Linked DNA regions of Homo sapiens: region 2 is linked to region 1. Evidence: promoter capture Hi-C in human tissues and cell types (Jung and others, 2019). All regions are on one chromosome and are shown on one strand. Each heading gives the region's core, a stretch centred on a gene start or on the middle of the fragment in contact. The rest is flanking DNA. Distances are from core to core; before and after follow the strand shown. Region 1 holds the start of HEYL (hes related family bHLH transcription factor with YRPW motif like). Region 2 has its middle 60 kb from the start of NDUFS5.

Region 1 (7,442 bases), core at 2,149-4,648:
AAAGGATCATGACCAAGTCCTTGAAACACTCTTTTGGCTCCTGCCCACACCCCCCCACACACACCCCACTCTCCTCCACTGCCCTTTCAGTCTTCTCTGGCAGCTCTTTCTCTTCTACAACCTTTAAATCTTGGAGTTTCTCCAGACTAGCGGTTCCCAACTGGGGGCGATTTCTCCCCCAAGGGACATTTGGTATTTTATCTGGAGATATTTCTGATGGTCACAACTGGAGCGGGTATAACTGGCATCCAGTGGATAGAGGCCAGGGAGGCTGCTTACCATTCTACAATCCACAGAACAGCCCTACACAATAAAGAATGACCTGACCCAAAATGCCAGTAGTCCTGAGGTTAAGAAACCCTGCACCAGATTAGCACCATCCAATAGGAATATCATGGGAGCCAAATATGCAGTTTAACATTTTCTAGTAGTCACATTTTTAAAAACCTAAAAATAAAACAAGGGAAGTTAACTTTACTAATGTATTTTATTTCATCCAATATTTATACAATATTATCATTGCAACATGTAATCATAACAAAAAATATCAATGAGATAGTTCACACTTAAAAAAATTCTGGTGTGTATTTCATACTCACTGCACATACAGCAATTCAGACCAGCCACATTTCAAGTACTTAATAGCCATAGGGGGTTCGTGGCTATTATATTGATGGCATAGCTCTAGGCTCAGTACTGGATAATATATCACAATGTTTAAGAGCTGTATAATTGACGGGGTGTAGTGGCTTACTCCTGTAATCTTAACACTTTGGGAGGCCAAGGTGGGAAGATTGCTTGGCCCCAGGAGTTGAAGACCAGCCCGGGCAACATAGTGAGATCTCATCTCTACCAAAAAAAATTTTTTTTTTTTTTTTTTTTTTTTTGAGACGGAGTCTTACTCTGTCGCCCAGGCTGGAGTGCAGTGGCGCCATCTTGGCTCACTGCAAGCTCCGCCTCCCGGGTTCACGCCATTCTCCTGACTCAGCCTCCCGAGTAGGTGGGACTACAGGTGCCTGCCACCACGCCTGGCTAATTTTTTGTATTTTTTAGTAGAGATGGGGTTTCACCGTGTTAGGCAGGATGGTCTCGATCTCCTGACCTTGTGATCCGCCTGCCTCAGCCTCCCAAAGTGCTGAGATTACAGGCGTGAGCCACCACACCTGGCAAAATGTTGTTTTTTTAATTAGCTGAGCATGGTGGTATGCCCCTGTAGTCTGAGCTATTCAGGAGGCTGAGGTGGGAGGATCACTTGAGCCAAGGAGTTCAAGGTTTCAGTGAGCTACGATGGCACCACTACACTCTAGCCTGGTGACAGAGTGAATCCTTGTCTTTATTTTTAAAAGAAGGGGGAGTACTGTATAAAGTAATAAAGCCTAATGTTTTGGCTCTGGAACTGAACTGCCTTGTTGAATTCCAGCCCTTCCATTTATTGCCTGTTGGCCTTAGGTGGAGTTAGTCTACCTCTCAGCCTTTGTTTCTCACTTGTAAAGTGGGGATTATAATATTACTACTTTATAGGGTTGTCAAGGATTAAATGAGTTAATATTTACAAAAGACTTAGAATAGTTTCAGGTTTTATAATAAGGGCTCACCAAATGTTAAGTATTTAGCTAGGCCCCTGCTCTGTCTCCATCCACGTTTTCTGAATGATCCCATCTGCTCCCATAGCTTTAAATGCCATCAATTACCTAATGACGTCCAAATTTAATATCCAGCTGAGACCTCTGTTCTGAACTCCATACCCTCTATTTAACTGTGCACTGTATTTTGATGATCCAAGACATCTCACATGAAACGTCCATCACGGGGCCCTTGACCTTCCCCTGCAAATCTGCTCCTCTTCCAATCTTTGCTATCTCAGCCAATTACACAGGGCAGCTATCTGGGAGGCTTCCTTGACTTCCGCCTTTCCAGGGAATGCATAACACATTGTGCAACTTCTCTGTTAGTTGAGGTTTCCACTGACTGGCATGTGCCCACAGAAGTGATGTGAGTGCTGAGGGCATTTGGAATGAGAGTCCATAGTTGTGGCTGGGGCGACCACCAGGGCTTCCTGGTACTGATTGCTCACGACAGTTGCGCCTACCAGTATATATTTGTAAGTCTGTCCGTGTGTATGTGTTTGCATACCTGGCCAAATGGTTGTGTCTGTGGATGTGTGTGGACGGGGGCACAGGAACATTCTTTCCCATCAAGTAATCAAGTGTCCCCCAGCAAGCAGGCCTTGCTGTGGGGATGGAAGCACAGTTATTCTCAGATGACCAACCCGATTCTCCCACTTGAAGGGGTGGCTTCCCTCAGGTCCTGACCTGGTGGCGGGTAAAAAGGAAAAGACCTCTCATATCTAACCCAGCACACCAAGACCTCCTCTATCTCCTCTTCCCTGCCCAAGAAGTCCAGCTCCAGGATGCTCTCATGCAGCTTCCTTTGGAGCCTTAGGAGCTTCTCTGAGGTACTGGGCGCCTGAGGATGACCGGTGAATCTGAGAACTTCCCACAAGTCCCCCTAAGGACAGGGCAGCTAGAGCCCTCCCTGAGTGAACAGTTTGATGGGTTGCCAGAAGCAGAGGCCCCAGGAAGAGAGGCTGGAAGGTATCTTCCCTTTTCCTCTCCTTCTCCCACTTTGAGGCCCTGCCATAGCGTCTAGAAGGAGCCCTTTCCTGGCCTCCTGGCCGCCCAGGACAACTCGACCTCTGGTGAACTGGGAACTGATTCCCAGGGACAACCCACCACTGCCACCACGCCAGGCCTTTAGGGACCTCGGCCAGAGCCCAGCTTTCTCAGATGCGGTGGCCACAACTTCAGCCGTCCCTTTTGGGGGTGACTGCCACCTCTCAGAAGTGTAAGTGTCTTCCCCTTGCCCCCACCACACTATTCCACTTGCTTTGGGCCCCTATGGAGTTGCTGCTGGGGAATTCTTGCTGAGGATCAGGCCACAACCACCACGACTAACTTCGACAAACTTGATGTGTCTGCTGCCTCCAGAACACCAGGAGGCAGGAGCGCGCAGGGTTGACCCTTGCGGAATCCCGGGCATCGAAGCGGCGCCTCTACAGGCCAGCAGCGCCCAGGCGACCCAGGGACAGACGGGGACTCCTGGCTTCCCCGCGGGGCCTCCCAGGGCACCTGCCCAAGGCCACCCAGCGCGCGGCAGCCGAGACAGCGGAGCAGAGCCGGACCTCCCAGCCGTCGATGAAGGCGGCGACCGCCTAGGGCCTTCCCACGGCTCGGCGGCGCGTCACCGCGGGGGCGAGGGGGCGCCTGGGCGCCCGGAGCTGCGGCGCAGGAAAGGGCCCTGGGAAAGGGCGGTGGCGGCGCCCCCGAGGCGGGGCCGGGGCGGGGCCGGGGCGGGGCCTGACTTCCCGACTGGGAGCCTTAGCCGCGGGGCTGAGACCAGGCAGCCTGCGTTCGCCATGAAGCGACCCAAGGAGCCGAGCGGCTCCGACGGGGAGTCCGACGGACCCATCGACGTGGGCCAAGAGGGCCAGCTGAGGTAAGGGCCGGGATGCGGGGACCGAGCAGGCGGAGGGCGAGCGGGGTGGGGGTCGGCCCGACGGGCTCGCCGAGCAGGCGGGCCAGCCCTCCAGCACCGCCTGGGCAGAGGCAGGTGAGCGCGGGGGCCACAGGTGTCGGCGTAGGGGGCGTGTGCGGGCCGTGCCGTTACACGCACGAGTGCCTGGATCCTGCGCGCTCTCGGTCGTGCAGGGCTGGGGATGCTGGCAGGGAGGGAGAGTTCAGCTCGGGGGATCAGGTGGCTAGTGGGTTATCATCTATCTGTTGAAGTGGCCTAGGGGAGGCCATTGGCAGGTTTTCCCTGGAGATCTTAGAAAACTCTCATAGACTGATGGTACTCTGGCCCCTGTCTGGAATCTGCTGACGATGCAGAGTAACCCCATCCTTTCCCAATTTTACCCTAGTTTGGATGCAGTTTTCATGTAGTCCACAAATTATTTCAGGAAGAAGAAAATTTGTCCTCCTTTGAGCAAATTGGAGTTTGGATTTAGGGACTTAGTATTGAAGAAAATAATAAGCGACTTGCAAGGGCCTAGACTCTAATTCCAATGTTCCTCCTATCGTGCCCCCATACTGCCAGTGTCTTTCAGCTCCTGGTAGATAGTCTGACCTGCTTCAAACCTGTCGAACAAACTGCGCTTGTATAGTTCTGCTACCTCGCAGTTCTGTAAACTGTCTAAGCTTCAGTTTCCTTATCTGTTAAATGAGCATGAATAATAGAACCAACTTCATGGAAATATTGGGAAAACCAAATGAGGCAAAGTATGTCAAGGGCTTAGCACAGCACATGCCTAGGTACACACCATGTGATTCCCAGCACCCTGAAAGAGCTGCAGGGCTGACTGGGAGTCTGCAGACCTGGGTCCCAGCCCCAAATCTGCCACCAACTCACTATGTGGTCTTGGGCCATTGGTTTCCCTGACAGAGTCTGTCATCAGTTTCCCCATCAGTAAAACAAAGACAGCAGTGGAAAAGAAAGGGATATACTTCATCTCTCTTGGCTCATCTAGACTTGACTCTCTAGAACAGAATTGGAGGGGAATTCAGTTAATTCTTTCTTTCTTTCTTTTTGACATGGTCTCACTCTGTTGCCCATGCTGGAGTGCAGTGGCATGATCATAGCTCATGGCAACCTTGATCTCCTGGGCTTAAGTGATCCTCCTGCCTTGGCCTCCCAAAGTGTTGGGATTACAGACATAAGCCAGTGAGCCAGGCCCAGTTAATTCTTAGGGATGTTTTTGAGGACATTTTGTAATTTTAGTGCTCTCCAGTTTTCTGAGATCCAAGGATCCTGCCTCAGTCTCAAATCCCAGGAAAATGCCATAATAGATATTCCTCTTGCAGCCTGTACATTTGTTTTTAGGGAGTATAACACAACTCGCTATGCAACGTATTAGCCTTTCTTAATTGTTTAGCAGAAACTGCTATTTAGAAAAGCAGTTATCTTAGCCTGTGCCTGTTAAGGGCCAGGAAAGGGCACAGCACCACGTGGTGGTGGTGGAGCGGGGTCTCAAATTCAATGGCATTGGGTCTTCATAGATCAGAGGCACAAAATTGATGCCAGAGAACTAGGTTGATCAGAGCTGGCTTCTGTCCTCCACAAGTTTGCAGCCCAGTCAGTGACCTGCCAGGTCATAAAAACACCATGGACAGGATGGAAAGGAGACAGACTGTGGGCTGTGAGGGCACTTAAGCAAAGAGAGGTCACTCTTAATCAAAGATGGCAAGGAGGGCTTCTTGAAGATAGTAGCATCTGGGCAACTGCTTACATGAGGCATAAAGGATCAGTGGGCAGTTTTTTCCTATACATACAGCATTTCCTATATATACAGAGCCCATTTTTAGACACTGTTCTTAGAGGAGCAGACCCCTCTGAGGAGAGAAAGCAGCTGGACATCTGGCAGAGGCTGACTTATAGATGCCCCTTTGTAGCACTCACCAAAGGGCCCTTCCCCCAGCAGACATCAATGCTTCAATTCAGGGAGCACTGAACGATGCCTGCTGTGGCCCAGACCCTGGGCTGGGCATAGGGGGCCCAGATGTATCCTGCTCAGCCTCTGCCCTCAGGGAACTCTCAGGGAAGAAGAGCTTCATGTACAAAGAAAGCAGATAAACACTGACAAAGGCCGCAGGACGGAGGCAGCCAGCCTCTCGGGGTCAGGGGCAGGGCGCAAAACCCCCACACTCAGAAACGTGAGAGTAAAGAGCAGGGTGTGTTCCACCATCACTGTGGCATCTGCCTGGTGGCAGTCCTGCCACATCTGTGAAACTCACCCACAGAGCTCTCATCTCAACCTGGCCCCATGACGCAGGATGAGTCCAAACTGAGAGTACAGCCTCTCCTCTCCCTCTGCAAACATCTAATGAGCACCTGCCACATGTCAGACACTGGATCAGGGTCCTGTTCCTGCACAATATAAGGTGGTGGTCTTGGAGTCAGATAGACCTGAGTTTGAATTTTACCACCATTAACTTTGGCCAGTGACTTTTACCCCTTTCTGAACCTCAGTTTTCTCGCGTTCAAAATGGGAATACATTAGCACTCCTGCCTCGCAGGATAAGGTTTGATGAAGTAACATACATAAAGTTACATAGCTCCCTGCTTTGGCACAAAGTAACTTCCAATAAACGTTGCTGTCAAAGCGGTCACCATTCAGTTGGGGGGCAACATATTTATGAGACAGCATGGTCTAATGAAAAGACCGGAAGTGTGAAGACTGGACTTACTGGAGTGATTCTTAACTCCAGTGTCTCTGTCACTCCACCTGTAAAATGATTATTTTTCCTAAATGTGAAATGGCCCAAAAAATACTTCACTTACAGTGCTATTGTGCAATAAATTAGACAAATGGATGTGGAAGTGCAGTATAGAACAAAAAGCACTGGCTCTGAGATCTACATGACGGGATGATGTATATATGGGGTGCACTGGCAAAAGCCCCAGATTAAAAGCCACTAGAGGCCGGGCACGGTGGCTCACGCCTGTAATCCCAGCACTTTGGGAGGCTGAGGTGGGTGGATCACGAGGTCAAGAGATCGAGACCATCCTGGCTAATATGGTGAAACCCCATCTCTACTAAAAATACAAAAAATTAGCTGGGCATGGTGACACGTGCCTGTAGTCCCAGTTACTTGGAAGGCTGAGACAGGAGAATCACTTGAACCTGGGAGGCGGAGGTTGCAGTGAGCTGAGATTGTGCCACTGCACTCCAGCCTGGGTGACAGAGTAAGACTCTGTCTCAAAAAAGAAAAGAAAAAAAAAAAAAAGCTACTAGAGTAGACCTGGCTGTAGTTCCGATTTTCCTCTAATTTGCTGTGTGGCCTGGGGAAGATCCCTTCCCCTCTGAGTTTCCTTATTTTACAAATGGACTCAGTTCTCTCTGAGATTCCTTCATTTGGGACATTGTGATTCTGCCTTTGGCTGACACAAAATGATTAGGGTCATCTGCAAGGGTTCCACGGGGGAGTTCCCAGGGGAAGTCAGCACTGAGGGTGGTCAGGACCACCTGGAAAGCTTCCCCCCATAAGAGACCGCCCCAGAATTCTGGCTAGGAGCCACTAGAGGCCTATGGAGCAGATCTTGATGGTCAACATATCTTCTCTGGGTCCATGAAAATCTGTGTCATTTTCAGATTCTCAGACAAGAGAATCCCACACCTCATCCCACTGTCAGGGCCAGATCGCGGGCTGGAAGGGAGCTCTGGCTGGGCTCTTGGGAACTTTAAAAATAAGGGGACCGGAGGGCTATTCAGACAGACAGGAAGTAGGAATTAGAAGGGAAAAAATGCTGAAGCGGAGCCAGAAGATGCGGATTCCCTGCTGGCTTTGCTCCTTAGCAGCTGGGTAGGCTGGGCAACCTGCTTTAGCTCCCTGAAGCTCAGCAACCTCATCTGTAATATGGGCTTTTGTAAGGCTCAAAGGAGGGAA
Region 2 (7,442 bases), core at 3,099-5,598, 550 kb after region 1:
CTCAGAGAAAGGACAGATTGGCTGTCTTTTCTGCTGCCTGCACAGAATTCTGCCCACGTGGTCATGTTCCAGCCCACAGCTAATGTGACCCAGATTTACTTTCAAAGAGCTGGAGCTGAGCTGGTGGTGTGTAGCTACAATTCATTCTGCCCCACTTTCAGGGCACTCTCCTCTGCTCTTCTCTGCTGCTACTGAAACCAAGCTCCAGGACAGGGCCAGAGACTCTGAGGACACTGCCAGGAAGAAGTAGAGAAGCTGGGAAGGAGGAGGAGCCTTCCTGGATACAAAACTCGAAGAGCCTCAGGGCAAGGAAGTTTGGCAGCTGAGGAGTAAGGATTCCCAATGAGATTGTCTTTAGGGTTCCATTTCCCATCCCTGCATTCCCTTCTTCCCACTCACGGCTTGGCCAGAATAAGCCACTTCCATCTGCTCCCTGACAAAGGCCTAAAGAACAAAAGAAGGGGACAGAAATAAGAGGCTTGGGCTCCTTCTTTGCTGGCCTGGGAAACTGCTGGCCTCCTGAGTCTCCACTGCCTCATCTGGCTGCCAGGGAGGTTACAAGGAATGACACTGTTAAGTGCAGTAACGGGCCATGTGAACCTGTGTTTTTCCAGCACATTCTGATTCTCGTTCATTTCCCTTTTACACCCTTTATCACCATCTCCCTTTTATAGATAAGGAAACTGAGGATCCAAGAAGTGAGGTCATTTGCCTAAGTCTTGTAACTCCAGATTCAGTTATCTCCGCAGTGCCTGGCACATGGCAGGAGCTTAATCCATTTTTTTTATTGAATGAATGAATGAAGCAGAGAGGTGCCTGTGAGATGTCTTCTCAGAGCTCCCAACTTGGAGGAGAGACACATGGGCCCAGAGGAGTAAGCTCCAGCTTCTGACCAGGTAGTGCTCTCATGGCTCTCTGTCCCAGGGCAAAAAGGGTAAGATGGGACTCCTGACTACAGAGACCTCCAGAGCTGGTGAGGGAAATGAACCTGGGAACAATGAACGTGAATATAAAGCCAACTGAAACAAGGGCTGTGCAGAGAGACAATTGTCGTCTGACTAGAAGGCCACAATGGAGCAGATGTTGGGAATGATTATTTCAGCAGCATTTGCTGATACTCCTAGGAATGAATCCCATAGATGCTTTCTACTGGCACATAGCTTAACCCCTTTTTTAGTTGAAGGAATGAATAAATGAACAACCAGAGAGGGATCCAATCCTTAGCTCTGAGTCACTGCACTCCCCTTTTTCACAACACATACGGGGATATAATTATTTTTTCCCTTCTAACTACTTAAAAAAAAAATAGAGACAGGGTCTCATAGGCTGGTCTTGAACTCCTTAGCTCTAATGATTCTCCTGCCTCGGCCTCCCGAAATGCTGAGATTACAGGTGTGAGCCACTACACCCGGCCTTTTCTCCCTTCTGTCCTCTCCACTAGACTGAGTTCCATGCAGAAGGGACCACATCTTCAGTCATCTTTGAATATCAATGCCAAGGACAGGGAGGGTCCTGATTATGTGATGTTAGATGAATGAATACCTGATTGATGGGTAGATGGTGGAATCTTCCTGCACCCTACCGTGCCCTAGCCCAAACATGAGCCCTTCTTCAAAACATGTTACTGCCATCTGCAGGAAACTTGTAATAATAAATGTACACGTCTGCAATGACAACAAATGTGATGTGAATCGCACCCCCAAGGGTTGTGCAGTGTACAGCCATGTGACACCCTGTCTTGCACCCTGTTCTCAATATACTCCCCACAGGTCCCAAGGGATACATCATTTCTTCCTCTCTTTGTTTCTACCCTTTGGGGTTGTACTCCTTGCTACAGTAAGCTCCCTAGCGCCCCACTTCCTTGTTGCTCCCCACCATTAAGTAAGGATATTTCTACTGCTCTTCACTAAAGACAGAGAGCCAGAGGGGAAGAGGCAAATTTTCCAAGATCTTTGTCTCTCCCCTTTCCTGGTTCTATAGACCAGGATCCTGAGGCCTTTCCCGGAAGTGACCAAGTCTCTCAGGTGAGTGTGGAGATTTAGATTGTCAACTACAGAAGATTCAGACTGGGCTGGTTGCCAGGTATTGCCTAAGGAAATAGAAATAACAATGTACAGGGCCGGGTGCGGTGGCTCACGCCTGTAATCCCAGCATTTTGGAAGGCCAAGGCAAGCGGATCACCTGAGGTCAGGAGTTCAAGACCAGCCTGACCAACATGGTGAAACCCCATCTCGGGCCAGGCGCGGTGGCTCACACCTATAATCCCAGGACTTTGGGAGGCTGAGGCGGGCGGATCACGAGGTCAGGAGATGGAGACCATCCTGGCTAACATGGTGAAACCCCGTCTCTACTAAAAATACAAAAAATTAGCCGGGCAAGGTGGCAGGCGCCTGTAGTCCCAGCTGCTCAGGAGGCTGAGGCAGGAGAATGGCGTGAAACCAGGGGGCGGAGCCTGCAGTGAGCTGAGATCCAGCAGAGATTGCACCACTGCACTCCAGCCTGGGCGACAGCGAGACTCCATCTCCAAAAAAAAAAAGAAACCCCATCTCTACTAAACATACAAAAATTAGCTGGGCATGGTGGCACACGCCTGTAATCCCTGCTACTCGGGAGGCTGAGGCAGAAGAATTGCTTGAACCCGGGAGGTGAAGGTTGCAGTGAGTTGAGATTGCGCCACTGCACTCCAGCCTGGGTGGCAAAGTGAGACTCTGTCTCAAAAAAAAAAAGAAATAGCAATGTACTTGGAGTTAGAAGATCTGTGTTTACCAGTCCTGTGTAACTATAGGCAAGTCCCCTAAACCCTCTGAGCCTCGGATGCTAACATATGTCCTGCCTAACAGAGTTATTTTGAAATCTCTGTGTAAACCATAAAGCTGATAAACCGAAACAAGACACTTTCATTAGTGACTCTTGTTACATTTGAATGTGGCTGGGCTTAGGGAGTTGAGAATATGGCTGGCAAAGAAGAAGGAGAAACAAATGTAGGGAAAGGATGAGAACAGGAAGATGGGAAGAAGAACAAGGTTCAGCACCCTAAAACCTGTTTGGCTTTGTAGACTGAAATCAGCAGGTTTCTCAGCCCCGACATCCCTCTCTACTCTGACATGTGTGACCACCAGGCTTGCCCCATCAGGCCTCTCAAGCAAGGGCGAGGCCCTAAGACCAGCTCAGGACACGGAGTGGGCCAGGGAAAGGGAAGATCTCTATTTGGTGAGAGTGATTCAGACACCCCCACTTGGCTTCATAAGCAAGATCCAGGGGGAGGAGAAAATTGCACAGGCCACAGCTGGCTTCCAGCGTAAGACTGACTTCATTTCCTCCCACAATTAAAGTTCTGCTTCAGAGAGCTTCAGAGCATCCAGGGTCTCCCAGACATGCCCCCCTGCACCTCCTGTGAAGGAGTCCCTGCAGAGCTAAGGCTGCCTTTTCCATTACTCTGGTGGAGCCCCCACAGCATTCTAAAATCACATGAAGATTTCAGCAAGACCCTAAAGTCGCAGTCCCGCCTCGTCTCTGCTGCCTCTCTCCTCTCCTGCTAAAGAAACACGCCCAACTGCAGTGCACAAGTTATTTTTAACCATGGCAGTCTCCCCATTTTCAGCCTCACTGGCCCAGCCCCCTCCTCAAAAGAGGCATTCAGCAGTGTCAGGATGCAAAGGAGATCAGCATCTATGCCAGAAACACAGCACAGCGCAGCACCCACCATCCCTTTGCTCAGTTGACCCAGCAGGGTCCTTAGGAGCCTTGCCTGTGTAAAATTAAGCCTCCTTGAGTCCACTCCACTTCTATTCTAGACTCCAAATCTGAAGCAGCAAGCAAATCATCCCGTGGGCCTCCTCAGAGAAGACTGGAAGTGGAAATCATCACAAAACGATCTAAGTATGCATGAGTGATGAAGGATGGAGGCAGAGGGCATAAAGAAGGAAGAATGAGACAGCCCACTCTCTCTTCAGGAGAAAGAGGTTTATGAGTCATCAGGGCCCTGAGTTATGGCCCTTCAAGACTGGGGACAAGTAAACCCCTTCCTGCACCCTAGGGACAGCTCTAAAATTCTGTTACTGGCTGATGCTGCAGGCCCAAAGGTTTTGAGAAGGACTTCCTCCAAGGACTCCTCGTTGCCCACTAGAAAGAGCTCCAACTCTCCCTCCTGCCTTCCAGGCCCCACTGTTGTCTCCTCACTTGGAGCTCATTCCCTCTAAAGTCCTTTCCTGATTACCTGAGCCCACATAAGCCTTTCTCTAACTTTCCGTTATAGCTCAGTGCCTGTTTCTGGATCACAGTCTGTCACATCACATAATATCCTCAAAACACTCATTCAGCATTCATTCAGTCATTCAATACCAATTGATCTCTAGCATGTACAAGGCCCCGTGCAGCCCTCGGGGGCTCAAAACATAAGACACATCCCAAATTGCTCACTCTTCTAAGGGAGTGATGGGCACCCTGTGGGTTAACTGCTACATTGAACAAGGGAACATGGAGGAGAGAAAAGTATGACTGTGAGAGCGGAGGAGGAAGCTTTGGATACCACTGGGGGCATTAAGGACAGAGGAGGCGGCACTTAAAAGAGGAGGAGGGTTTACCAGCATCTTGCAGAGAAGAAAATTAAAGTGTGGTGGTTTCATCCTGCAAGATGCATCCCTCTGGGGGTCCAGTTACAGTGTACTGTGGCAGGGTGATTGGGGGTAGAGGTGGTGGCAGGTGAAGCTGAAGAGGTAAGTAATTTTGATGGGTCTTTATGCTGAAGCCTTGATTCCACAGGCAATGAGGGGCCAAAGGTGGTTTTTAAGCAGCCGAGTAATAGAATTAGGTTTGTATTTTATTTTATTTTTTATTGTATTTTTAATGAAGTGTTGTACAGGCAGCACTTCATTTCATAAAATAGAATATGTGTTCTTGAGGTTTGTATTTTAGAAAAAAATACTCTATTAGTCACGTGGAGGATGGTGGCAAGACTAAGAGAGGAAGAGCTATTAAATGCTCATTGGAAGGTCCAGGTGAGAGATGACACAGTGGAGGGGGTGGCTGTATTATTTGAGGGACACAAAGAAGGTAGCAGTACAGGCCTTGGTGACGGCTTGAAAGCGGGTGATGTCACTGAATTAGCTGCAGGCACTGCTCTATCTTCCTATCCGTACTGTAACACCAACACCCTGCTGAGATGCTGAGCACACTTCAGGGAGGCAGCTGTGGATGCCTTCAGTGGAAGCATCTCCTTTATTGAGCCAAAAACTGTGCTAAGGGCTTTCCACACATTATTTCATCTAACCTTCAAGGCATCCCTGCACAGTGGGCATTCTTAAGACAAGGAAAGTGACACTGAGAAAGAATAAGGGACTTGCCCAGAGTCACACAGTTGGTCAGTGGCAGGGCCACGATCCAGCACCCTACCCTCTCTGATTCCAAAGCTTACACTCATAACTACAGCACTGTGCTGCTGCTTGGCAAAGAGCTGGGCACATCCCACCACAGGAGGTAGCCCCAGCCTTCACGTCGTGTGAAAGGTCAGCATGTAGAACACTTTTGGAAGGCGATACAAGTAAAACTGTACTCTCCAAGGATTTCATTATAAGGAAATAACAGAAGTCAAATCATTCTTAACCATGTTCTCAGCAGCATTGTCTAATATAGCCAAAAAGTGAAAAAAGAGTAGGATTTAGAAAGTCATGAAATAGACAGCTTTTAGAAATGGTAACCATAAAGTCTAAAGTGCAATATGGAAAATCTTTTTAATATAAGATTAACTGAAAAGAGTCAGATGCAGAATGGTACCTAAGCCATGAAGGCAACTGCATAGAAAATATAACTGAATGGGGACAAAGACAGGGAAGAAGGTGCAGAAATGAAAACAGGTCTCACGTGAGCAAGGGGTGGCAGATTTTCCTCTTTTGAGTTTTTCGTTAATGTTATTTCAACGTCTTTCCAAGAATAATAATAACAAATCAGATGATGGCTGCTTTGTCAGAGGCCCTGGTGAGGACCCCTCGGCTCCCCACACAGCTGCTGTGCCCTGGCCCATTCCTCCCTCACACCCACAGCGTCCAGCCTGCTGGGGGACCTCTCTTACCAGCGACTCTGACCACAGCACGCTCTGCAGGGTCCAGCACCGAATCCTGGCTTTTCCGCTTTTTCTGCTCATGCAGTGGCAGGTTCCAGGGCAAGGTGTCCCCTGGGGGACAGGGAGACAGGCTCCCCGACCGCTCGCTCCTGTAAGATCGCTCACTCCGACAAGACCGCTCACTCCGACATGACCGCTCACTGAGCGTCTCTTCATCTGAGGAAGACATGGCCCAGGCGGGGGCTGCTGCAGGAGGGCCTGGGAGCCCAGGGAGAAGTGATCTGAAGGAGAAAGGGGTGAATGTGAGCAGACAAAAGGGGTCCCATAAGGAACACTGGGACTTGGGAAGCAGAGGTTCTAGTCCTGCCTATCTGTACCTCAGTTTCTTCACCTGGAAAATGGGATGAAGACAATACATCCCAAAACTAATTCATGAGGTTTGGGGGATATTATATGTGATGATGTCTATAAATCTTAAAGCATCATGTAAAAGTTAGCTCCTATTCCTAGGAACTATTATTATTGCTATTTGGCACATTTGGAGGATTAAGCTCACAGATCCCATGACAGAATGCTGTGGGTTTAAATTCTACTCCATTTACTAGCTGTGTGACCCTGGAGAAGCCATTTAATCTCTCTGAGCCTCAGCACCCTCATCTACAAAATGGGGATGACGACAGTTAGAACCTAGCCCTATAGGGTTGGGTTCTGCATGTAAAGTGCTTAATCCTGCATGTAAAGTGCTTAATAGTGCCCACTGCCCAGTAAGCACTCAATACACAGTATCTATTATTATATTCCTGTTCTACTTACCTCCCAGGAATGCTATAAGGATAAAGTGGGGCAACAGATGGGAAGTATTTTCAAAAAGCTAAAGCATGATCTCAATAGCAGGCAAGAAGCAAACCATGGGCTAGAATAGGCAGAAATTCTCTGGTTTCTCCCACTCTGTCTCCAGCAGATATATTAGAAAATGTACCAGACTTGAAGTAAGACAGACCTGGGTATATATTCTGGTTTGGCCACTTACAATTGCTGTGATCTTGGGCAAGTCACTTCACCTCTCTGAGACTCAGTTTCTTCATCTGCAAAATGGGGGTAATATTCCACCTCAGAGGATGTTTTAAGAACATTGTCAAATGCAAATGTAGTACTGGTTGATGCCATGCATGGCACCCAGCAGGCATTAGATTAAATGTTCATTTGCTTATTCCAAGGGCTGTTGTGGGAATACGTGGCACAGCATGAGGATGGGGTGGGGGGATGGGACAGAAAGCCCATTTTTTCTGGTCAGTTTAGCTAGTGGAGAGAGTTGAGTGAAAATACAATTGCTCTAAGGCCAGCTGGGCTCCACCAGCCAGACTGGGCAGCCTTCCCTCAGCCA

Evidence for each region. Contacts are between HindIII fragments. The study calls those that stand out against the background at their distance.
Region 2: a contact is called between a fragment that was not itself captured here and the fragment with the promoter of HEYL in region 1, in 1 of the 25 tissues and cell types used here (lymphoblastoid cells).

What each region holds. Positions count from the first base shown.
Region 1 is chr1:39,635,599-39,643,040 of GRCh38, reverse strand. It overlaps HEYL (hes related family bHLH transcription factor with YRPW motif like), which reads left to right and starts at 3,398. Exons shown (of 5, transcript NM_014571.4): 1 at 3,398-3,495. The coding sequence starts at 3,416. RefSeq lists silencers at 3,042-3,431, 3,552-3,621. The HindIII fragment of the contact is 11,489 bases long and covers 1-5,613 here.
Region 2 is chr1:39,083,064-39,090,505 of GRCh38, reverse strand. It overlaps a transcript of MACF1 not described here. Among named protein-coding and RNA genes, the nearest start is that of NDUFS5, 60 kb to the right of the region's middle. The HindIII fragment of the contact is 4,796 bases long and covers 1,951-6,746 here.